Regions from separate parts of the Homo sapiens genome. Here all the other regions are linked to region 3. Evidence: promoter capture Hi-C in 16 types of primary human blood cells and fetal thymus (Javierre and others, 2016). All regions are on one chromosome and are shown on one strand. The core of a region is centred on a gene start or on the middle of the fragment in contact, and the rest is flanking DNA. Distances in the headings are between cores, read along the strand shown. Region 1 overlaps SLC9A9 (solute carrier family 9 member A9). Region 2 overlaps SLC9A9 (solute carrier family 9 member A9). Region 3 holds the start of SLC9A9-AS1 (SLC9A9 antisense RNA 1). Region 4 overlaps SLC9A9 (solute carrier family 9 member A9). Region 5 overlaps U2SURP (U2 snRNP associated SURP domain containing). Region 6 overlaps SLC9A9 (solute carrier family 9 member A9). Region 7 overlaps SLC9A9 (solute carrier family 9 member A9).

Region 1 (3,411 bases), core at 461-2,960, 290 kb before region 3:
TTGTTCAGTTTTTACATTCTTTTTGCTTTATTTTTGTCTGAATGGGTTAATTTAAAAGATATGTAGTCAAGCTTTGAAATTTTTCTGCTTTGTCTAATCTATTGTTAAAGCTTTCAACTGTATTTTGTAATTCCATCTGTAAATTTTTCATTTCCAGAGTTTTGTGCTTTCTTTAAATATCTATCTCTGTAGTAAATTTTTCATTCATATCTTGAATTGTTTTTCAGATTTCTTTGTATTGGTTTTCAACTTCCCCTTGGATCTCGTTGAACTCCCTTATGATCCATATTTTGAATTCTTTATCTGTCATTTTAGAATTTTCATTTTGGATAAGATCCATCACTAGAGAGCTAGTGTGATCCTTGAGGGGTGTTACAACACTGTTTTTTCATGGTGACAGAATTGGTTGGTTCCTTCTCATCTGGAGAAACTGTCACTTCTTATTTTTGAATTTACATTCATTTTAATGGGACTTTATTTTTCCCCTTGAAAGTGTGACTGTTGCATATGTTGGGTAGGGTCATTTGGCTTTGCTAATTTGTGATCTTGGGGTGGGGGCTAAGGCTCCGTATGAATTCCTTGGTTATAGATAGCCTTAGTGTAGTGGCTTGCTCAAATGCTGCTTGTTTGTAGGTTTTAGTAGTGGTGTACTCTGCATGTTGTCAGGCTCACTGTCTCCTGCAGAGATGGGGAAGTAGAAGTCTCAGGAGATTATCTCATTCCCCAGTGCTTTGCACTTCTGTTTATTCTCACTTATAAATGGGAGCTAAATAATGGGTACACGTGGACATAAAGAGTGGAGTAATAAACATTAGAGACTCCAAAAGGTGGAAGGGTGGAAGGTAATGAGGCTGAAAAATTACCTATTAGGTACAATGTTCACCATTTGGGTGATGGATACACTAAAAGCCCAGGCTTCACAGCTATGCAATATACACATGTAATAAATCTGCCCCTGTACCCCCTAAATCTATAAAAATATTAAAAAATTTAAAACTGGGAAAATCAAAATAAAATACTTAATAGATGAGCGGATATGATTGTCTACTTAGAAAATACAAGAGACTTAAATGGCAAAATATTAGAGAAATCGGAAATCTGGCTAGACAGATGATTGACAGACAAAAGTCAGTAGCTTTCCAGGACTTCAGCAACAATTAATGATAACATGTAATGGAAAACAGTTTTATTCATAATAGCATCTTAAAAATCTAACATAATTAGAATAACATTAAATAATAAATGTACAAGATATCTGAGAAGAAAAATTTTAACTTTAGTAAAGGACCAAAAAGACACCACAAACAATAAGGAGAGCTGCTATGAGACAGGATGACAAGATTCAAAAGCCAATTCTCCCACAAGTAAACTATATCTTCAATGTAAACTCACTTCTAAAACCACAACATATATTTTTAAGCCTATTCTACAGATCATGTGGAGCTTCTGCTTAAGACAGCAGGATAAAATAGTTTTATTCTACTAGACTCCCTGAAAACAAACTAAAACTAAGAAAAACACTGAAAAATAGAAAAAAAATAGCCGTTGAAACAGGAAAGTATTCACAACTCCAAACTATAAACTATGAAATATTTAAGTATGAAGTATTGCCGCTGAATAATGTGAAATCTTAAACAAGAGATGGTAAGATGCTGAGCCAAGTCTGTTTCTCTCGGACCTGATAGCACATCATACTACTGAAAGGAGCATCCAATATTCTGCTGTTTAGAGCACAGTTAAGATCAGGTAGATGGGTCAGGGGAAAATGGGGAAAATAGTCTGACCCCTCAAAACAGCAGCCAAATAGAAATCATGCTGACACATTCTGGTTTCCTAGCCAAGGACTCTGCTGGAGGCTATTTGTATGGAAGAAAAGGAGAAGTTTTCAAATTAAAACATAATTCATCCGCAACTTCGGGGGTTTTTCTCTGTGCCACCTCAATTTGAATGCCATAAACTACAAAAAGATGTATTCCCAATAGCAAAGAAATAACAGATTTGGTGACAGATGCTTGAGACAGCCAGTGGCAGTTTTAAAACATAGCCCCCAAATTCATTGACACTCCTATCCAGAAATGGGTCTATGCCCCACCTTCAGTGTAAAGAATACAGAAGGGATGCTGTCCCAGTTTCCAGGTCCAGGCCTTTAGTAACTAGCAGCTTCCACCTCCTCTCGCTTAGAGAACTTACTCTTGGAACCCAGCCACCTTGCTGTGAGGAAGCCAAATCAGTCTGTGGAGAGTTCCACCTGGAGAGGGAGCGACAGCCAGCAAGACTTGCCAGACATGTGGGCGATCCATCTTTGAAGTGGATCCTGCAACCCCATTCAAGCTGCCCCAGCTGATACCACGTGGAGCAGAAATGAGCTGGACCTACTGCACCCTGCCCAATTTGCAGAAATGTGAACAAAATAACTGATTGTTATTTTAAGTCACTCAGTTGTGGGGTGGTTTGCTCTGCAACACTAGATAACCAGGACAAAACCCAAATTAAAACAGCAGTGAGCCTCAGCTTACTCTACCCTATTTCACCCCTTTCCCTGTACTATTATTTAATTATTTAAATAATAGTCAGGCTTTTAAAAAGATGAGTTATAATCAAAAAGGAGGGAGTAATATATATTCATTAAAACTGCAAAGTAATTTTTTATAAATAATGGAGGGAATTTAAGCCAAAGAAGAGCCCACAATCCCCAAACAAATACATCAAAGTATTTCAGAAAAATTGTAGACAAAGAGTTCTCCATTATTCTGAAGGACTTGCAGAAAATATGGATCTCTCTGTCTCTATATGTGTGTGTGTGTGAAGCAATAAACATCAAGCAAATGCTCCTAAGTATCAAGCAAACAAAAATGTTCAGAGCAAAGTTCAAAATTTTATAGAAGAGATATAAAATAATTAAGGGAGATTAAAAGTGTGCTGGCAATACTCAGGGAAAAAGTTGGAGAGATCAATAAAATCACTAAAGAGACAAAAGACACTAGAAGCCACAAAAATACAATGAACTTCACTGAAAATATTGTTAAATACATAGAAGACGCATTTGGGGAAATAACACAAAACAAAGTAGAAAAGAACAAAGATATAATGACTCCAGAGAATATGACAGAAATGAATGACAGATAGTTGGATGGTTTTGAAGAAGAAAACACTTGGAAAAATATCATAAGAACATGGTGTAAAACAATATTCTCCCGAAACAATGTAATAAATAGATAGACATAAAGGACCCACTAGATTTCAGGAAAGTTTCATTTGGAATCATCGACAGCATAAGATAATCTGAAAAAGTTACTGAATTTCAAGCTTAAAGAAAGGATTATGGGAGCACATAGGCAGAAAATTCAAGTCACTTACAAGAGCAGAAATAATCAGGTTGGCTTTCGACTTGACCACAGTGACATTCAATTT
Region 2 (3,685 bases), core at 169-2,668, 330 kb before region 3:
GACAGAGGTAATCCAGGCAGCTTTGTAAACACAGAGTACCACCTGGTGGGGAGAAGGCTCTGAGAAAGCTTAAGGTCTCCTGTACCTCAAGCCAATATTTTGCCCAGATGAAGAAGATAACAGCTCAGCTGGAAGAACCATGAGCCATGTTTCTCTCCAGGGCCACAGACGACGTCACCTGCAGAACATTAGCAAGGTCTCCCTGGGCTCAGATACTCTTTGGAGTGTCCTGTCTTGGTAACCCTTAGAGTCACAGTCAAAACAAGGGCATATGCATTTGAAATTATGACAGCCCTCCCCTCATTCATGCAGAGAAGTGTTAAACTCATGATCACTTTTCTTGACATTGTTCTGCCCATTGCACATGCTGCTCTGTAACCCTGCAAAGCACACCCTTGATCCCAGCACTGCATCAGGGCTCCATCCGCATGATTTGGAAAATATACACATTCCACATCTGGAGACTACAGTTTGGAGTTTGGAGTGAGACCCATAGAAATTTAGATGTGGAAGGCCCTTAAAGACAATCTTGCTCAACATCCTCATTTTTAGATGAAGACCCTAAGACTCAGAAAGACAAAGTAAATGGACACAGAATAGGAACTGTTCTTTCCAAATACAGAAGTTCAAGGGAGTAATTTGTGAGAAAGGAAGAGAGATAGAGAAGAGTTTTTAACATTTCTCTGCTTGATAATATCTACTTTTTCTCATTTGAAGTTATTTTTAAGTGTTAAAGGAAAACAAGTAGAAACTGTCATTCCATTTTATACTGGACTGACCCACTAATAGTTTTGATGGCATGAACAATAACAATACAGTAACCACCACTGATGAAGCACTTACAATATGCCAAACATTTTGCATAAATAACTCCAATTAATTATTCTCCAAAAACCTGAAGAAGGGATTATTTTATCCCCATTTTACCAAGGAAGCTTACTTGAAGCTTAATGAGGTTAAGTAGCCTGCTCAAGATCACCAAGTTCATTTGCATAACAGCTGGGGTCTGATCAGAACACAGGTTGGTTTGACATCACAGTCAAGTTTCCAACCACTGTTTTCTACTTTAGTACAGAGTTGTAAATAGCAAGGTCTTGGCACAAAGGTCTTGCTTCAGAAGTTGGAAGCTAGTTATGGAAAGTCACCTCCAGAACAGAATTGGACACAATAATAGATAACAACCAACTATATAAATGCTTCAGGATGTTGAAAGTGGATCAAGCAAGGCTCCAGGTGTTCTGAAGATGAAATTTCGAGAACATACTGAAAACCGTTTGAAGCAGTTCAACAGCTCCATGGACAGCTGGGAAACAGCTGTGGTTGACAGACCTCTCTGGCTCACTGCTTTGGGGAACAGAATGTCTCCGTTTAAATGAAAGCAGTTTATTCTCAGTAATGCTCAAAGACGTATAGGATGGAAGTTTTGAAAGTCAGTGTCCAGCCCACACATTCCATTTATGTGTTAAAGAAGACATTGTACATTGAGACAAATTGGATTCAGTAATTCTTAGAGAGTATTTCCTTGCTGTCTGGTTCTTTTTAGGACTCAGCCAAGTTGATGAGGTCAAAACCATGGAAGAGTGAGGCAACTAGGGAGTAAAATTTAAGAAGGCACTCACTCTCTGGATTATGTAAATGCAGGATCAGCAGTTGTACAACCCTAAAAGGGAGTGCTTTCTTAAGAGAAAGGTACCTAGGATGGGAGAGCAGCCACTAGTCTCAGACTGGGATTTGGTCCTCTTGTTCCATAAAGACTCACAGGTGCCTCTTGGGCAGGATTTCTTGAAAAGCGGCCAAGAAAGGACAAGAATTGACCTTTTGTCTGGGTGCTACAGACAAGGAATTGTGTTGTTCAATTTATTATTTTGCACTGAAATGGAGAAAGCTTTTTGAAACAAGTTCTGTCAGGTCAGTGAGTGGGCAAAGAAGTTCCTGATTACGAGGGCAGAATACAGGAGAAAAGGAGCTGTTCTGATCCTCGAGGAGCTAACCACATGGTGGGTGACCTTCAGAGATTCATTCACTTGTTAATTCATTTATTCAGTAAACAGAATTAATTGCCTATTGCTTTCCAGAAACTATCAAAAGCATTGACAAATGCGCAGATGAACAAACTAATACCAGTGATAATCAACTTTTTAGCCAAAAAGTTCTATTCAAAAAAGGAAGTGAAAGTGTTTATAGGCTATTTATTGGGAGGTGGTTTTTTAAAATGCTACTTTCTTTTTTTATTTTTACTTTTTTTGTTATTATACTTTAAGTTCCAGTACATGTGCACAACGTGCAGGATTGTTAAATATGTATACATGCGCCATGTTGGTGTGCTGCACCCATTAACTCGTCATTTACATTAGGTATATCTCCTAATGCTATCCCTCCCCCCTCCCCCCACCCCACGACAGGCCCCAGGGTGTGATGTTCCCCACCCTGTGTCCAAGTGTTCTCATTGTTTAGTTCCCACCTACGAGTGAGAGCATGCGGTGTTTGGTTTTCTGTCCTTGTGATAGTTTGCTGAGAATGATGGTTTCCAGCTTCATCCATGTCCCTACAAAGGACATGAACTCATCCTTTTTTATGGCTCCATAGAATTCCATGGTGTATATGTGCCACATTTCCTTAATCTAGTCTATCATTGATGGACATTTGGGTTGGTTCCAAGTCTGCGATTGTGAATAGTGCCACAATAAACATACGTGTGCATGTGTCTTTATGGCAGCATGATTTATAATCCTTTGGGTATATACCCAGTAATGGGATTGCTGGGTCAAATGGTATTTCTGGTTCTAGATCCTTGAGGAATCGCTACATTGTCTTCCACAATGGTTGAACTAGTTTACACTCCCACCAACAGTGTAAGAGTGTTCCTATTTCTCCACATCCTCTCCGGCATCTGTTGTTTGCTGACTTTTTAATGATCGCCATAATAACTGGCATGAGATGTTCTCTCATTGTGGTTTTGATTTACATTTCTCTGATGGCCAGTGATGATGAACATTTTTTCATGTGTCTTTTGGCTGCATAAATGTCTTCTTTTGAGAAGTGTCTGTTCATATCATTCACCCACTTTTTCATGGGGTTGTTTGATTTTTTTCTTGTAAATTTGTTTAAGTTCTTTGTAGATTCTGGATATTAGCCCTTTGTCAGATGGGTAGATTGCAAAAATTTTCTCCCATTCTGTAGGTTGCCTGCTCACTCTGATGGTAGTTTCTTTTGCTGTGCAAAAGCTCTTTAGTTTAATTAGATCCCATTTGTCAATTTTGGCTTTTGTTGCCATTGCTTTTGGTGTTTTAGACATGAAGTCCTTGCCCATGCCTATGTCCTGAATGGTATTGCCTAGGTTTTCTTCGAGGGTTTTTATGGTTTTAAGTCTAACATTTAAGTCTTTAATCCATCTTGAATTAATTTTTGTATAAGGTGTAAGGAAGGGATCCAGTTTCAGCTTTCTACATATGGCTAGCCAGTTTTCCCAGCACCTTTTATTAAATAGGGAATCCTTTCCCCATTTCTTTTTTGGTCAGGTTTGTCAAAGATCAGATGGTTGTAGATGTGTGGTATTATTTCTGAGGGCTCTGTTCTGTTCCATTGGTCTATATCTCTGTTTTGGTACCAGTACCATGCTGTTTTAGTTACTGTAGCCTTGCAGTATAGTTTGAAGTCAGGTAGCATGATGCCTCCAGCTTTGTTC
Region 3 (3,616 bases), core at 526-3,025:
TGCTGTTTCCTTTGTAAATAATATTTTATTTAAATAATTGCCAGCCCAAAAGATAGAATCATAATTATTCTGGGAGTTACATGGATTTGATAGGTAAACCACTATTTCAGCCATAACTTGCAAGCTGGTTAGACCATTGATCACTATACCTGGGTGTTAGTTTAGATAGAATATTGCTGAGGTAGTCAGCTCAGTACATTGTTGAGGTCTCAAGAGCACAAAGACTCCTTGTTGGGAAACTCCTGAGACCTAGAACCATGTTTCCAAGGCAGCAGTACTAGGTAAATATTCTAGGTGTATATTCTCTGTCATTTTTAATGTATGAATAGCAGACTAAAAGTGCTGCTTTTTATACCTAACCAGGAATCATCTTTGACACCATCTGAAGAATCAGTGGTAGACTCACCATCTTCAGAGTCCTTCAGCTTCCACTAGACCATTTAATTCATTTTGAGGGGACAAAATAGGGACTCCTGCAGTTTTCTCTCTGTAGTATTTTCTTGCTGAATCCAAGACCACATTAGGAAACCATGCCGTTGATTTTTTCGACTACTGCTTGTGGCAGTTCTTGCCTAGCTGTTGAAAGTTACTTTTTTTCCCCTCTTTACATCTTGGTAGAACATCTTATTCTGAAAATTGACTATCTCTCATCCTCCATTCCCACGCTTTGCCTAGAAAATGAAAAGATGTTTAAAAGAATGCCCTCCTGTTCTTGCCACTACAAAAAAATCAAAACATTTCCTGTCATACACTCACACACAATTAGTCTCCTTAACAATAAAGAGGAAAAGAAGTGGGAAAAAAATATCCATGACCTCTGTTGGTATTAAGTCTATAGGATACACTCAGCAGAGTCAAACCATCTAGCACAATCAAAACCATTATCTCCTCCTCTGGGTGTCTAAACTGCCCATATCAGTCATTTCAGTGAATAAAGAAATAAACAAACACTAGAAAATAGGATAGTTGTAGATTTGAGAAACAGTAAAAGTGTGGTGCTATGTATAGCAATGATATCACTTGTATTATTACAGTCATTTTTATATTACTAGCATTTGGGGATTATATCATCTAGCATTTGAGGTTGTTTTGACAATTTGTTCACATATAGATAAGAAAGAAGGAATGATCTTTTCAAAGAGAGATGCATGGTTAAAAGCGTGGCGCGTGTATATTTGCATGCACATGCACCTGCACCTGAGGTTGAACATGCACCAGATACACCATACCCCACCTGAGTGATTAAATAGATCACTCAATAGGAATTTTTCAGGTCATTTTCAGTTTTCTCAGTCTTTTGAAATAAGGTGATATTTTATGGTGCCCACAGTGGTTTGTGTCTACAAGCATTGCCTAATTTTAAAACCTTAAGTTAATCTTGACAAATCTGGCTATTGGAAGCTGTTTGGCCTTGAAGGTTATTTTATTTGTGAGTCCTGCTCTAGTTGCTACATAGATGGTGGCATTGGGTGGGGTGTTTAAAATCTAAGATAGTCCAATAAATAAACTGAAATACATCAGCAATAAGGTTTATAAGTGACCTCATGAGGAATCATCTAGCTTCTTAGATCAGGGTCTGCTGGTCATAAGGGTGGATCACTTGAGGTCAGCAGTTCAAGATCAGCCTGGCCAATATGGCAAAACCCTGTCTCTACTAAAAATACAAAAATTAGCTCGGTATGGTAGCACATGCCTTGTAATCCTAGCTACTTAGAAGGCTGAGGTAGGAGAATCACCTGAATCCAGGAAGCAGAGGTTGTAGTGAGCCAAGATGGTGCCACTGCACTCCAGCCTGGGTGACAGAGTTAGACACTGTCTCAAAAAAAAATAAGAAGCTCTAATGTTTGTTTCATTGAGAGATCCCTTCCTAAGGGACCCAACAAGCAGCTTCAATGATGGTCAGTAAAGTATGAACCTTATAACCATAGTTTCCACGTTTCCACCTTTGCCTCCTACTGAGGCGGCAGCAGAGCTGGGTCCTGACTGTGATGCGGTATTCCCATAACACAGCTCCACATCCAGAGGTAGTTTCACCCGGAATCAATGAAACTCAGCTTTCAGGGCTCTTCATCTGCATGGGTCCTTTGTAAGGGACCAGTGTTGATATTCAAAAGTGTGCATTCTTTTTATTAAGAATAGCCTCCAAAATTAGGTAACCTTCAGACTTCATGAAATCTGGATCTATCCCCGTCCATGTGAGTAAACACTACAGGGAAAATATGATAAATTAACGGTCTTATCATAATATTAAGTATTACAATAAATTATATGATTGTAAAAAATTTCAGTCCCTAGCACCTATATAACACTGTGTTCTGTATTTGCATATCGGAGTCATTTTGGTAAACAAAATTTTAATTTATTTGAACAGGGTTCGGGAAATCCTCAGGAAGTTTAACTTGCAATTTGGTATCTGAAGCTAATGTTATTCCTCTCCACATTTCTCCTCAAACATTTGGCACAGCTTTTCCTACCGTGGCAAGCAACTTGTCCCATTCTGAAAAGTGTGTTAAATTCACAGATACCCAATAATGATTATTGCAGGGTGTTCTCCAACACGTTTCATCCCTTGGTCTAAATTTACATTGTATGACTATGACCTGGGATGACTCTCTTGCCCTCCCTTGTAACTCAATACAGTTATGAATGGATGATTATTTTTATAAAATCCTACTCTGGAGTTCCCAAATTGACAGGCATTGGAGGCTCCCAAACCGACCCCATCTCAGGTATATATTCTCAAGACCAAAAGTTTATGAAAGCTAAGCCCCCTTAAGCCCCCACTACTCCAAAGGAACTGCAAAACAGCACATGAACAGTGAAAAAGATCCTAAAGAAATTCACCTCCCGATCACACCAAATTAATGCTATCCTGAGATACATCCAGCGAAAGGAATTCATCATATTCCACATAAGTGCCAAAAGACATTTGGACAGACTTTCAGCCTAAAGGATAGTGAGAGGGATAGTCTTAAAAATTTTAAAGATTTCTTTAGAACTTTCTTAGAATTAAGTGTCCTATTCAGCTTAATTGTTCTGCTACCAGCAAAAGTGATAAAGTTCAGGTGATCCTAAATGCAGAAAATATGTGGAAGTGAATAAAGCCTTCTGCACTAATGACTAGCAAATTTCAATAGATTTCCAATCTCTCTTTTTCACATTTCTTGTACCAACTCATTTATATTGTCATTCTAGAAAGAGCACATAAAAGGGTGTCTGGAGATAGATTTCTGGATGTTAAGAGAATCTTTAGTGAGTGGAGATAAGACCTGACCAGGAGACCTTTTATGAGTATATTCAGAAATGTAAACTGATGAATATGGTAAGGGCAAAAACTCAATATGATTGCATCTAAGATAGGATAAGGAGTTAATGCCCCTTTCCAAGAGAAATCTTGAAGACGGTACCAAAGTGAGCCCCAGGAAAGATCTGAACTGAAACCTCTCTAAGAGTCTCTTCAAAGCCTCCACTAGCTATAGAGTGGTTGCAATGGAGAATGATCTTGTTTTCCATTAAGAAATTCCAACTACTCATTAGTACCTGTTTTATTTTTCCCACTATAGCCTCCAGGCCTACCACTGTGCCTGGCACAAAGCAGGTGTTCTAATAAATGTCT
Region 4 (3,286 bases), core at 767-3,266, 340 kb before region 3:
TATACATTATTGGAAGTAGAAGATAGCATTTCTCATTGCTTCCAACTTCTTTTTTTTTTAACAGACAAAACTGACTCTTCATCTGTAAAATAAAAAGTTTTAACTAAAGGTCTAATATCCTTCTAGATCTAACATTCCATGATTTTTATTCCTGTGAGACTGGTTTTTATTTTAAAACAATCTTTTATTTTAGGGAAAATGAAAGTCAACCCGAAGCCTGCTAACTATATTCTGAGGTTCCAACCTCAAATCAACAAATGCTAAAGATATCTCATAAGGTAGAAACCCACACATGAATAGGAACCCTTAAATTCTCTTCTTTTACTGGGAACTAATTGTTATATTAAAACATGCCGAACCCACTCTCTGCTAAATTGGTGCAATTTAAGATCTTCAACAACCTTAAAACACCTAGTTAATCTTACCCCACAATTATTCATTTATTGCCTAAATTATTGTGACTCACTAATTTACGAGAGGAAACCTATGCTCTGCAGGTCTGACATTTCTTGGCCATTTAAAAATTAATTATTTCCCATTTAGCCTTAGCTAAATATTAGCTAGCTGTTATTATTTCCTTCATATTCATCTTTTATGGATACACATTTAGTCTTAAATCTAATTCTTCTGCACATTTCAGACTCTCAGCCAATTTTCGATTTAGCTCCATTTGGGATTATTTGACTATAATTTGATTCATTTTATCTCCTCCTTTCCTTACTGATGAAGATCTTGCTGATGATGGAAAGGTCATCATCAGCACTTAACAAGTGGACAGTGAAAGGCAGAACAACCAAAGAGACAGTATATGGAAAATGGCAGGACAGGGAAAGAAAGAAATACACAGAGGGCTCAATGAATGAGCCAGCTCTTCTTCTGGTGTGTGCAAAAAACAGAGACTAGGAGGATGGGGAATGGGAGAGGAAAGATAAACAAAACTTAAGAGAGCAAAAGCCCAAACAGCTGGAAATAGATGATTCGTTTAACAGCTCTCATTTTGCGATTAGCCAAAGCTTGTCAAGGAGCTGTCCAGCCTCATACTCTCCTCTTGTCTTTTTCATTGCTGTCTTGGGGTCTCGTTTGGTAAATTTGACTATCCAAGATAACAATTTTGATTAACAAGTTGGAAATCTCCTTTCATATCGGGTAGGTGGATAAAGAGGGGAGTCCTTAAGGTGTGTAAAGATATGTGGAGATACAAGCATACCCATGAGCCTTGAACATACCAGTTTTGTGGCTGCTTTGGTGTATTTTCGCTTGTTGCTCCCTCCCCACCTTCTTCAGGTCTATGCTCAACTGTCACCTCAGTGAGAGCCTTTCTTGCTCACCCTATTAAATACTGCACCCCCTTGCCCAGACACCCCTAATCACAGAGCTTTCTATCCCCTGTCCGTGCCTTACTTTCCTCCACATCACTAATTACTAATCACTATTGATCAATTTATTTAGTTCTTTATTTACCTATTTATTTACTTCTTTGTCTTCTGTGTGGGAGATTTTTTTCTATTTTTCTGGATTTTTTTCCTCTTTTCAGTCTTACAGTTCTGATATCTAGAACAGCGAGCTTTTAATAAATACCTGTTAAATCAGTGAATTAATACAACTTGAGGAAGAAACTGCTAGGGCAAAGTGTGGAGTGTGGAAGGGTATCTCTTTTCAATTATGAAATGTGAAGTAGTTGAGTATCCCAGGTCACCCTCGCGGATGAGGTGTCTCATGGCCCCTGGAAGGGCAGTCTCCCAAGGTGAGGGTAGACTTCCAGCACATAGCTGCATTTCTAGCACATAGCTGGACTTCTAGTACATAGCTGAGTGGCTTTATCAGTTTCTGTCCACCAAAGAAGATATATTTAACTAAAACAAAGATATGTGCCTTTCCTCTTGTCCAACCATGTAGCAAATATTTCTTTCTTCTGTTTATCTGGTGGTCAGTGGCTGAACATTTTCCAGAGCATTTCAAGCTATGGTTTGTGGACTTGCAAGAAGCAGTTATAATCGTGTGTTTTTTCTAAGTTGGAAGATGTTCAAAATAGTAGCTTCTTTTAGGAAAAGGAAGAACTCAGCACATTGCATCAAGTATTAAATAATCACCCAGAAGATGCCAGAAACTCATCCTGGTATTTATGGAACTGACATTTCCTCCAAGGTCTTCAGGAAGCCACTCATTCAAGTACATGTGTTCTGTGCATTTTCTCACTTCATCAATTTCCCTGTTTCCTATTTGGATTAGAGTATCTTCATTTTACATGATGCAGCTGCATTGAGACTCAAATACAGCTGCACTATTTTGAGCTCCAGAAGTATTAATCCAGTATTCAAAACTAGAAAATAATTATTAATTCAGAGACTTGTCCAATTTTCCTCCTAGAGAATTAATCCAGGGTGTCTTGATTTAGGTAACATTAGATAGGGCACATTCTAGAGTTGCTGTATCCGACATGATACTTACGAGATACATGTTGCTACTGAACCCTAGAAATGTGACTAGTCCAGATTGATATGGGCTGCAAGTATAAATACACCCTAGATTTCCAAGACATCATTTGAAAAAAGTGAAACATCTCATTAATAATTTTATACAGTATTAATTACATGTTGAAATAATATTCACTTAATATCAAGTTAAATAAAATATCCTATAAAATTAATTTTACTTGTTTTCTTTTTACCTTTTTAAGAAGACTACTAGAATATTTAAAATTACATATGTGGCTTGAGTTAAATTTTTATTGGACAGCACTGCTATAAAGATATATGGAAATGAAACTGTTGGAAACCAAAACCATGACCCTTAATAGAAATACTGTAATAATTTAAAATTGAGTATTAAATACAAATACAGTATTAATTACAGATACAATGCACCACATAGATTATACCATTTGGTAAAATATAGGCGATTTATTTTTATGAGATTGAATTAATATGTCTGAGATTTGCTTTCTAAAATCTCTCCTCCCAGTCTCATTTTTCTGCTTTGATGCATAATAACCTATAAACTACTTTATACCCAAGCTTCAGAAATAAAAGAGGGTAAATATCTATATGATTCAAATATCATATATGTGCCATTTAAACCACAAATACTGTAGCCTCTGACTTGGGGACAGTGGATTAAATAAACTCCTGCCCAAATGTCTCAATTGTATTCTTTTTGTAAGAATATAAATAAGTTCTTAAGCCTGACAATCTCAGCATTGTTTTTGAAACACCCATTACTGTTTTCTCTTATGTAACATGTCACAGGTTCAAGAAACTTGGTATTTATATTACGTTAGCATGGTTTC
Region 5 (3,685 bases), core at 1,171-3,670, 300 kb after region 3:
GCGGATCACGAGGTCAGGAGATCAAGACCATCCTGGCTAACACGGTCAATCCCTGTCTCTTCTAAAAAAAATACAAAAAAATGAGCCGGGCATGGTGGCTACTCCGGAGGCTGAGGCAGGCGAATGGCGTGAACCCAGGAGGGAGAGCTTGCAGTGAGCCGAGACTGCGCCACTGCACTCCAGCCTGGGTGACACTGCGAGACTCCATCTCAAAAAAAAAAAAAATGGATTTCTCACAGTACATAACACATAATGTATTACATATATATATATATATATACATATAATCTATACATTAGAATCCATTTCTTCAGAGGATCTCCTATGTGTCATGTATTAGACATACAATGATAAAGAGAAAACAGACATGGCCTTTTCCCTTCATGGAAAGTGCAGCCTAATGGGGAAGACAGACATTAAATAAGCAAGCAAGCAAGTAAGCAAACAAACAAAATACACATTCACATACATACCCCACAATACATATAAAATCACACAGAAATAAATAGGAAGAAGCAAGTAAGTCCAAAAGGGTAAGAAAAGGCTGTGAGTGAACAGACGGTTGAACTAAGAGGCCTGAAGAAAAGTCATCTGGTATGAAGAGTTCTAAGCAGAGAGAAGGAACAGTATGTACTACGGTACAATGCAAAGAGGCAACTTAGTTTGGTGGAGAAAGTGAAAAGCCAATAAAGTGTAATTTAAGTTTCACTGCAACACCAACCTCAATTTCACGAAGTTTGGCTCGTTTTTCCTCACTCATTTCAGAGTACTTAGAGAACTTAGACTCAGTCATTTCTTCTTTGATTGGATTAGAGTACAAATGATGTTCTTCAGATTTGGAACTTTGAGTATCTTCTTCATCTTCACTTTCTTCTTCTTGACTTTAGAAACAAGCAGAATACATTGTATGTCAAGGCAGCAAGAGAGTACCATATTTTACAGTCTACCTATTTTATTTTTCATTGTCTTAGAGCTTAAATAACATAGCCAAAACATAATAGGACAATTCATACCTCAAGCATATTTTGCAAAATATTTTATCAATATTTTACAGACAATTTTATAAAACACTTCTTTCCTCCACAGAAAATGTGTGAGCTTCAACATAAGCATACTGTAATAAATTCTGCTTATGTTGTTATCTGTGTGCCTTCCATTTGCAACAAACTTTCCTTGCAGCAGTTAAATGAAACGAATAATCAAGTTTCTGCATACTTCACAGTTCAGAGTGATTTCAAGAAGCTTTATGTTCTCCATTCCTGAGTTATTTCACTCATATTGTGAGCAACAATATTCACAAATATTCTATGTTCTCATTTATAAGTGAAAGTTAAGCTATAAGGATGTAAAGGCATAAGAATAATACAATGGACTTCTGGGACATGGAAGGATGGGAGGGGGGTGAGGGATAAAAGACTATATATTGGGTACAGTGTACATTGTTCAGGTGACAGGTGCACCAAAATCTCAGTAATCACCACTAAATAATATATCCATGTAACCCAAAACCACTTGTACCCCAAAAACTTTTAAAATGAAAATTAAAAAAAATTAAAAATAAAAAAAGCTGTATGTGTGCCTTTAGTAACTTCAGCAGAGCCTATAATCAATCTAGAAAATACATGAGCTTGAGTCACAGAGTTACTAAGAAATAACCAATACAGCTGGTAAAGACCTTATCTGATTAGCACATAACCTTAATAATAAAGCAATGTATGCATTTTATATATTAGCAAATACCGGTATTCACATTTCAGTTGATTCTGAAAGTTGCACTGGTTCTGGGTCAGACAAGAAAATAAAAACCTGAGAGACTATCATGAGTAAGTCACTTAGGATACAAAGAAGAAAAATTCTCCTGTCCTTCCAGAAGCAGTCTAGTGGAAACACAAACAGGCAACTGTGTGTAAAGCTGGTCATCAATGCTAGTACAGGATTAACCAAATGTTCTTGAAGCACAAAGAACAAATGGTTTTTTTAAAAAAAATACATTCTGAGACTGGGTTGTGTGTGTGTGTGTGTGTGTGTATACTATTGGCAAATAAATCTGGGCAAAACAAGATACCCATATACAAACAAACTCAGAATGTTTATATATATACAAACAAAATTCCTTACAAACAATGTTGACTGTGATAACATTACTGGCATAACCCAGAACAAACGCTGTTTTGCCTTTAATACTTGAATCTCGCAAGCCCTTCTATGTTGGTATTTGGGTACTAAGGACATTCTACGATGAGCAGAAAGATTCCTTTTAATATACATGTAGAATTATTCTTAATAATGTAAAAAGTTATAATCAAATTCTTTCCAAATAAAATTTAATTAAAGTCTTATGTAATAAGACCTTCATTGTATGAGAGAAAAATTTACACCAGGCAGATAAAAAGAAAGGCTGTCAATTCAGAATCAGAAAAGATATGGTACTGAGAAAACTCTGATACTAGCTTTTAAATTTCTCAACCAAAGGTCCTTTCTAGACATTACTAAAATATTTTACTAACTTCATCTTCAGAACCACACAAATCATTAATATCACCATACAGGTACAACTCAATACAATATTAGCTAAGGAAGAAAAAAGTCCAAACCAACAGTTTAAAAATATTCTTCTTGGAAAAAAAGTTTTACTTAATATTTCTCATTAATTTGTCATAAATTTCCTAAATACAGTTTTTAGTTAATTTTTTTAAAACACAAGAATTTCCTGTTTTATGGTACATAAAATTATACAAGTGTTTCAGATGCTTTTAGATTGAAGTGTATGTGTGTTTATGTAAACAGGGATGTTTACTGAAGAATTATTCTAGAAGACTCAATAAGGACGTGACTTTGTTAAACTGAGTCACAGTTACTATGAAACAATAATACAGCAGATATTGATTACTTAACCAATTCTAGCCTGTAAAATTTTTTCTAATTTTTTTTTGCAATTTCAAATATTCTTTGGTAAACATCCTTGTATGTTTACCAAAATGTTTGCTTTCAATCATAGATGAATACAGAACAGGTAAACAGATTAAAATGGCATAATACCAATGACATTGAATGAAAAACGTGTCACAGAATAGCATGTACAGTAATATTACATCATTTATGTCAATAGTTATGCATGTTTTTATACACACAGAAAGGGTCTAGATGGCTGAACATTAAACATTTAACCATATTACTTAAGACTTTTTAAATGAGCTCTATTCATGATTTAAAATATGTAAATATTTTAAATTGCTATTATAATTTTTTCAAGGCTTAAGCAGTTTTTCTAAACTGGTTTTGGCCTTAGCTTTTAGCCACAATTCGAGGTTCAAATCTTATCACAGCTTCTTCCTCTTCTTTTTTTAAAAAGACATGCAAATTCAAGATTCTAAATCCATACAGTATTCAATACAAATGAAACTGCTTTTTGTAACTTTTCTCCAAAACATGCTTTAAAAATCACATTTCTGCCACGAATCACAATATTGCCACAAAATATAATAATTACTAGTTACAAAATCAGCCTTAAGTAAAAAGACATTTAGGATTCAGCCACTAGAGAGTAGTAGTGAGGCATGAGAACATTTCAAGGATCACAAGCTGCACAAAAGCTTTTTTTCCTTGCTTTGTACTTTGTTATTTTTACATTATCATGATTTACCTGAAATTCCTAAGAAAAATGAAAAATCTAAAATTATACTTC
Region 6 (3,825 bases), core at 1,090-3,589, 310 kb before region 3:
TTATTTCAAAACTATTCCATTTCTTCACAGGGTAGACAAGAATGTGCAAAGTAACAGTTTTCTCTTTTGTGTGGGACATCGTTTATGAAACAGAGTTCAGTTCTTTGTTCAAAAGGAATTGTGGGAATGTCAGAGCAGTTATGAACAAAACTGGATATTCAATTAAAAGCCTTTCCTCTTAAAAGCTCAAAGCTTTCGTTAGACAGGTGTAGAGTCTTCCCCATAGGGCAGAGGGGCTCCATAAGTGGGGAGGTGGGGTAAGGGCCTTACCTTCCTTTTCCTGGGCCTAGGAAACCTCCATGGAAGTGGAGATGGGCTGCAAGTCATCTTCAGAGCTTGATGATACAAATGAACAGCTACAGAGTCTAAAGTTAACAATAGAGAGGCCATGATAGAATGTTCTAGTTAAAAAAAAATGTTACTTTTATTCCACAAGATCCTAGCCAAAGGAAAATGTTGCTAACCAAACCCCATTGTAACTTTTTTGTTTTGGGTAGATGCAGTGTCTTAACTCTATCCAAAAAGGAGAAAGAGATTACTTAGCAGAAGTGTTTGCTTGTTCCCTCCCACCAACTGCAACGTCTAAAAGTTGTGGCAAATGTTAACAGCTGCATGCTAGTAAAAAGCAGATCTCTGCCATTTTACCTATCATGATTAATAGGACCTATTCAGCTAGAATAATAAAATTGATTCTATGCCTGATAAAATGGGATCTGGCCAATTGTCATGTCAATTCATATGGCATTTTCTTTCTTTTTTTGGATTTTGCAGTAACTTCTTTAAAAACACTTTTTAATTGACAAGAACTGTATATATTATGTACACAGCATAATTTTTTGAAATATGCATATCTTGCAGAATAGCTAAATCAGGCTTATTAATATATGTATTACCTCGCATGCTTTTGTCATTGTGCTTAGAACACTTAAAATCTGCTCTCTCAGCAATTTTCAAGTGTACAATACATTGCTACTAAATATAGTCACATGTTGTACAATAGATCAAAATCCAGAGTCATTCCTTGCTGCCTCTCAAGCACCAACACCCACCAATTTTCCATCTCAAATATCTCTGGGGTGCTGTCACCTCTGCTATATCTTCCTTGATGTTCTCTCTTATTCGTTCACTCATTAAAGGCTTACTATGTCGCATCACTGTGCTAAGGGCTTGTGGCACACAGAGAAGATGAAAACCAGTGAGGTATATTTGTGAAGTACAAAGCACAGTGGTCATTGGTCTATTAGAACCCAGGACAGTGAACATGTAAGAGTTTGGGAGCATGAATCCGGGCCTCTTCCTGTCCTGGTACAACTCATCTCTTCCTGAAATTATTGGGAAAGCCTCCAGCCATGTGTCCATTCTGCCCTCTGCTCTTCTGCCTGAGCTTTATTTCCAAAGTTCAGATTGTGTCATCTCTCTTATTAAAACCCTTCATGACTCTCTATTATGAAAGAACAAGCTCCAAACTTCTTAATCCTACTTATAAAACCTTCACATTCAACTTGTCTGTCTTGCTTTTATTTCCTCGTAGCACTGTTTTGTACAACACAGTTACTAACCTCACCACCCATGAAATAGGAAAGGAAAAACAGAATTAAAAATACCCATTCTGCCTTAGACATTTGCCATCAATATCATTTTCAACCTCCCTCTTTCCCCCTTGGCAATTAATTCAATGGATCATTTTCCTAATGATTGCTGTTCACACTCTGCTTAACTGTTTTAAATATCAAGATATTGAATAGTTTTGATGAACACAGATAATCAGTGTGTGAGTATTGACTGCCCTAATGTACTCACAGAGGCTCAATACAAGAACATGGCATATAGTAGCAGGCCATGCAGCAGGCAACCAGAAACAAATCCTCATGTCCTGTTCTTAAGATCATTGAGTCCATCTTCACGGGTGAGTGTGATCTCAGGACAGAATGAGACTCAGGTGGAACCGTGTCTCCCTTCACAGGAGTAGGCCATTGCAACAACATTTATTCATTTATTCATTCACTCATTCATTTAGTCATTCATGCATCAAGCAGTTACTGAGTATGGTCTAACACCATGTGTCCAAAGATGAACCCCATTTCCAGGGAGCTCCCAGTCCTTTCTGTGGTAAGTTCAGTGATTTGATCCAAATGCTGGGATCCAGAAAGGAGTGAGCCAGGCCTCTGCTGAGGCAGTTGAAGGGTTGGGAGGGGGACAGTTGAAAGGTTCTTAAAGAATGAAAAAAATGAGTCCTTGGTAGCAAGAAGTGTGTGTGTGTGTGTGTGTGTGTGTGTGTGTGTATTTAAGGAATACAAGGATGGTAGCAAGTGGACGAGGAAGGAATTGCTGCCATAGTAGAAGGAATCAAAATGCAAAGGTAGTTAAGAAACTACACAGTGTGTTTGGGAAATTATGGCAAGTTCAGTGTGACTTGAGAAAGGCAGCAAAGGGGGCAGAGGGAGATGAGGCTAGAAGGTAAGCAAGGTGCAGATTGTAGGGTACTTGTACTTTGGAGCTCAAATTTTATCTTTAAGCAGTAGGGAGCCAAGAGAAGCCTCTTAAGCATCAGATATTTTTTGAATAAAGGTCTGGTGTTAGTATAGTCATTGGATTTGAGAAGATGAGCATTTCATTAATGTTTTTGAGTGGTGACCATAGCCAAGGAAAACTCCATGCCTGCATCCAAGCTAACCTGCATGTTTGTGTGTGTCTTCCTAGTGACAGTGCTGGCCATTTTCCATGAACTGCACGTCGACCCTGACCTGTACACACTCTTGTTTGGAGAGAGTGTGTTGAATGATGCAGTGGCCATAGTCCTTACATAGTAAGTACCAGAACTTGGCCTATGTTTCTTTAATCATGTGAAATATGCTTTCACTTGTATCTTTTCTCTTATGTCACAGAGATACGGGCAGTCTCTAGCTTTTTTCAAGGAATTGTTATCACAGAAAATTTCCATAATGGGCACAATTCATTAGGCATCTAATTTCTAATACTATTAATGGGTTTTATGTTTCCAGCTTATTACAAGATACTACCTAGAGGGTAACTTATTTTTCTCAGTGCATATATTTAGCTGATTCACTTAGGTTCCTAAAATGCACATAAATGAGCTTTTTTCATTTCAAATCAATATCATTTAATTTTTCGCCTTATATAAGTCACTTTCCAGATAATAGTCTAATAGAAACCCTTGTATTTATGGGCAGATTGGCAGATTGGAGCCAGAACCTAAGGGTCAGAATACTCTTTATTTCTCAATGCAAAGGTAATGCTGTATAGGAATGCATACATCTTTAAAACATCACATGACGGATGAAACTGATGGAGCTTCAGCTCAGCACCAGTGCAATTTCCCTTTGCGCTGGAAGGATATTAGGGTGGGGGGATGAGAGCCAGTGCTCTTTCCTTACCTCCCCTTTAGACACTTACCATTTATATTTAATAAATGCCACTTCAGTGGCTTTCACTATGTCAGAGGTCTCTTCTTGGTTTTAGATTAAGACCAACATTTTGGGCAACTGTCAGATATCCCAAAGGAAAGTCAATATCTGATAATTCAATGTGACAAAAAGATTCTATTCTGGGTGTTAATTACTTCAAATGCAGTTTAAAATGTATTGTGAAGTAACAAAAGATTGTTAAAGTCAGATCTCACAGAGGGGAGTAAGAAATGACAGAGCAGCACTACTCTTTTTTTTCTTTCTTTTTGCCAGTTGACATTTCTTAAGGCTGCTGCCCCAAAGTTGACAGTGAATTCAACAATTTTCAAGTGTGTCTCCAAATATACTTATATTTCACCTGGCCACAGAGAAGTGTCTTTCCTGCTTTAAAGGAAAATAT
Region 7 (3,335 bases), core at 747-3,246, 380 kb before region 3:
CTGCATCCCACATGTTTCCCAGTAGAAATGGAGGTGTGTTGAGGAAGCTGCAAGCCCTACCCCAAAGTTTGTAGACTATAAGATGGCAAGTCACTCAACTACCTTCAAAGATCTGTCCGCACAAGGAAAACCTGAGCCCTTTATCTTCCATGGAACATAAATGCCCACAGATAAAGCTTCTCAGTAAGTGTGTGTTGTGTCCTATAAGAACCAAATACAAATTTATAGAACACATTAAGAAGTTAACGTTCCATTTATCCGTTTAAGATTAAACAACCATTTATTGAGCTACCTACTGTGAAGTAAGCATAATAGCCCTCTAGGTTGGTATTGTTTTCATTGTGCAGAGGAAGAGACTGACAACTGAGGGGCTAAGTCGTCCTAGATTAAGTAGCTACTAAATAGGAATGCTTAGAGCTAAACTCCGAGTTTCTGATTTCAAGTCAAATGCTCTTTACCTTATATTCAATTGTCACCTCGAAACTCAGAAATCAAAGCCCTAAAGGAATGGAATTCATGACTGATAATTTTTGATGAAAGAAGAAAAAAGAGGGAATGTTCAATACACGAGATACTGCCTGCGTGGGCTGATCCAGGTGAGCAGCTGCAGAACTGAGCCGGAAAAGCCTGTGGGAGGTGCTATGAAGGGCTTAAAGGGCAATAGCAGAACCTGCCTGTTCAGCTGTTACGTGGGAAGGGGCCAGGAAGGTGGTGGAACCCAGGCATTTCACTCCATGAGGGTTTCAGCTCCAGGTGAGAGCTGCTGGGATGGCTGGGACACAGCTGAACCTGATCCAATCTCGCGGGCACATTGGTGTCTGTGCCTTTAATTCAAACCTCTTCATTCTGTAACAAAGGCAGAAATGTTCTTTCTGTGAGGATGCTGTTGGTGTTATGGATACTGTTTCAAAAAAATCATGAAACAAGTATGCAAAGAAAACATTTTCCCCTGAGTTTCTTCTCAAAATCCTGTGTGTGGGGGAGAGAAATATGTAACAGGAATAGAAAAATGTAAGTAAACAGTGCAAATCAAACCAGTAGGTGAGTTTGCACATCCAAAGATTGCAAAGAGGAAAAAGGGGTTATTTCAGCTTTATGTTGTTCTCTCTGAATGTTTCCTTTTGTTCTTAATGTTTTCAAGTCAGAGACTGATAAATGTGCCAATTCGTATGAAATGGCTTAGGTGGGATGCACTATCTTTTTTTTTTTTCCTGTTTAACTCCACATTACCTATTTGATTTTAACTTGTGTGGCTTGAACTTTCTATAACCATCTGGATTCTTCAGTTGTTGTTGAACATGTTCAGCTGATTCATTTTTGCCACTGAGAATATTGCATCCACATTGTGAAGTGTAGATCTACTAACCTTGCCTCTGTATAACAATTCATTTTTCCTTTCCTTATCTGCAAATGGACAAGGCCATTTGCAACAGAAAATGTGATTTTTTGTGTGTATGGACTTGTTTCTATCCTCAATCCCAGTGATATAGCTCTCTCTGAAATGAAGAATTGCATTGACTACTAAAAAGACTTTACTGGAAGAAAAAACACCTTCCAACAAATGGGGTGCATCTTGGTTCAAACTAGTATATCAGAATTCACAAACACAAATGCAAAAAGGGACTAGGCCAGTGATGTAAAAGATTGAAATCACTTAGATATAAGGGTAGTTCAGCCTGGCAAGTGTAGAAAGTGTCCCCATCAAAAGGAGGCAGCCAGGCAGCCACCACTAAGCTCCAATGGATTGTTTCCATTGTTTCCATGAGAAAACAATGGCCCAACATTGCCAGATCTTCTTATTTTCCAAGAGAAGCTCATAGCCTGAATTTTTATGTGTAATCTGTTTATTGTCAGCCACGAATTCTAACAATTTCATAAACACTCACTGCCACTCAACAACCAATTTTCAACTTCTATGGTAGCTGAGGAATTAAAGAGAGAAGCCATAGTCAGAGCCATTCATTAGGAAATGACCTTGACCTTAGTTTACAACCTTGACACAAAACATCTAGTCCAGTGACCAGCAACATGGTATCACTGGGACTGTATTAGAATTCATAATCTCAGCACCTGCCTCCCCAACAGATCTACTGAATAATAGTCTACATATTAACCAGATACCTAAATGATTGATATGCACATCATGGTTGGAAAAGCACTGATCTGTATGAGGTTATGTTTAGTGTAAGGACATCCCTTATATCCCAGAAGGGGTTCTGCCATGGCATACCCACCCTGGGAGGCTCTCAGGGAAGTCTTTTTAAACTCTAGGAGCTACTGATTGTGAAGCAGCTGAAGGCTGTGATTCATTTGCCTTCCTCCCCCTCCATTCCTCGTCTCCTTGCCCTTCCTCCTTTGCCCATCCCTGGTCTCACGAGTTGTGGTCAGTGAACACATTACTGTTGCCTCCCATAGGCCTCTCAGTTGTGCAAGCCAACAGCAAAAGAGCCACATAAACGGCATTGGTACCATCCTATATTCTCCCTTGGGAATTGTCTCTTTTTTCTTTCCCTCTGCCTGCTCCATATTTGCTCACTCAGCATCTCCCCTGTGGTCGTCATCTTGATTGTTTATTTATCTGAGGATTGATTTGTTTTGTTTTTGTGTCAATACTTTGTCCCTCATCTTTTGAACTGGTAACCCTATTCTGGACTGATTTCCTAACTTTGACCTACTGCTTCCATAGTGTGCTTTTTCTGAGTGTCCTTCTTCCTCTTGGTTCTCACAACCTCCTGAAAGGAGAAACTTGCCTGAGTCCTGCCTAATCTCCCTGACCAATGTTGGCCACTCTTCTCCACTTGACAAGAGTCTGGGATAAGACACTCTAACTCATCTCTTCTTTGATGTGAACTGATAATTAACTGATAAAATTTAATAAGAAACTAAGTATGTGATTTTCCTTAAAAAAAAAAATACTGACATAAAAAAAAGCCAGGTGCAGTGGCTTATGCTTGTAATCCCAACATTTTGGGAGGCTGAGGTGGGAGAATTGCTTGAGCCCAGGAGTCTGAGACCAGCTCAGACAACATAGGGAGACCCCATCTCTACAAATAATAAAAAATGAGCCTGGCATGGTGGCACACATCTGTAGTCTTAGCTACTCAGGAGGCTGAGGCAGGAGGATCTCTTGAGCCCAGGAGGTCAAGGCTACAGTAAGCCATGGTGGTGCCACTGCAATCCAACCTGGGCAACAGAGTAAGATTCTGTCTCAAAAAAATGGCATTTGAGTCTCAAAGAAAAAGCACCATTTCTCTTTTGAAAATGGCTCAAAGTAACACTTATGTGAAATACAGTGAAGTTGCTATGGACGATGGTGGCTTGGTGTGTAGTAAGAC

Evidence for each region. The method cuts DNA at HindIII sites, captures the fragments that hold promoters and counts their contacts. A CHiCAGO score of 5 or more calls a contact.
Region 1: a fragment that was not itself captured here is called in contact with the fragment with the promoter of SLC9A9-AS1 in region 3 in 9 of 17 cell types (M2 macrophages, naive B cells, erythroblasts and 6 more); the score reaches 11.9 in M2 macrophages.
Region 2: a fragment that was not itself captured here is called in contact with the fragment with the promoter of SLC9A9-AS1 in region 3 in 10 of 17 cell types (M2 macrophages, M1 macrophages, M0 macrophages and 7 more); the score reaches 14.9 in M2 macrophages.
Region 4: a contact is called between a fragment that was not itself captured here and the fragment with the promoter of SLC9A9-AS1 in region 3, in 8 of 17 cell types (M2 macrophages, M1 macrophages, M0 macrophages and 5 more). The highest score is 9.5, in M2 macrophages.
Region 5: a fragment that was not itself captured here is called in contact with the fragment with the promoter of SLC9A9-AS1 in region 3 in 4 of 17 cell types (M0 macrophages, naive B cells, M1 macrophages and 1 more); the score reaches 6.2 in M0 macrophages.
Region 6: a fragment that was not itself captured here is called in contact with the fragment with the promoter of SLC9A9-AS1 in region 3 in 7 of 17 cell types (M0 macrophages, M2 macrophages, naive B cells and 4 more); the score reaches 11.0 in M0 macrophages.
Region 7: a contact is called between a fragment that was not itself captured here and the fragment with the promoter of SLC9A9-AS1 in region 3, in 2 of 17 cell types (fetal thymus and naive B cells). The highest score is 5.8, in fetal thymus.

The regions. Positions count from the first base shown.
Region 1 is chr3:143,634,049-143,637,459 of GRCh38, reverse strand. All of the region lies in intron 6 of SLC9A9 (solute carrier family 9 member A9), which reads left to right. LOC102724120 (a long non-coding RNA gene) reads right to left here. Exons shown (of 3, transcript XR_001740940.2): 1 at 3,358-3,411. Among named protein-coding and RNA genes, the nearest start is that of SLC9A9, 210 kb to the left of the region's middle. The HindIII fragment of the contact is 3,196 bases long and covers 113-3,308 here.
Region 2 is chr3:143,667,042-143,670,726 of GRCh38, reverse strand. The region is part of intron 5 of SLC9A9 (solute carrier family 9 member A9); the gene reads left to right. Among named protein-coding and RNA genes, the nearest start is that of SLC9A9, 180 kb to the left of the region's middle. RefSeq lists an enhancer at 1,260-1,309. The HindIII fragment of the contact is 939 bases long and covers 949-1,887 here.
Region 3 is chr3:143,340,405-143,344,020 of GRCh38, reverse strand. It overlaps SLC9A9-AS1 (SLC9A9 antisense RNA 1), which reads right to left and starts at 1,775. Exons shown (of 4, transcript NR_048544.1): 1 at 1,737-1,775; 2 at 407-671. All of the region lies in intron 14 of SLC9A9 (solute carrier family 9 member A9), which reads left to right. The HindIII fragment of the contact is 6,948 bases long and covers 1-3,616 here.
Region 4 is chr3:143,684,515-143,687,800 of GRCh38, reverse strand. All of the region lies in intron 5 of SLC9A9 (solute carrier family 9 member A9), which reads left to right. Among named protein-coding and RNA genes, the nearest start is that of SLC9A9, 160 kb to the left of the region's middle. The HindIII fragment of the contact is 2,001 bases long and covers 1,016-3,016 here.
Region 5 is chr3:143,040,313-143,043,997 of GRCh38, reverse strand. U2SURP (U2 snRNP associated SURP domain containing) reads right to left here. Exons shown (of 28, transcript NM_001080415.2): 24 at 722-881. Among named protein-coding and RNA genes, the nearest start is that of U2SURP, 41 kb to the right of the region's middle. The HindIII fragment of the contact is 2,351 bases long and covers 1,245-3,595 here.
Region 6 is chr3:143,651,236-143,655,060 of GRCh38, reverse strand. SLC9A9 (solute carrier family 9 member A9) reads left to right here. Exons shown (of 16, transcript NM_173653.4): 6 at 2,701-2,806. LOC102724120 (a long non-coding RNA gene) reads right to left here. Exons shown (of 3, transcript XR_001740940.2): 2 at 271-365. Among named protein-coding and RNA genes, the nearest start is that of SLC9A9, 200 kb to the left of the region's middle. The HindIII fragment of the contact is 4,289 bases long and covers 195-3,825 here.
Region 7 is chr3:143,715,968-143,719,302 of GRCh38, reverse strand. All of the region lies in intron 4 of SLC9A9 (solute carrier family 9 member A9), which reads left to right. Among named protein-coding and RNA genes, the nearest start is that of SLC9A9, 130 kb to the left of the region's middle. The HindIII fragment of the contact is 3,635 bases long and covers 179-3,335 here.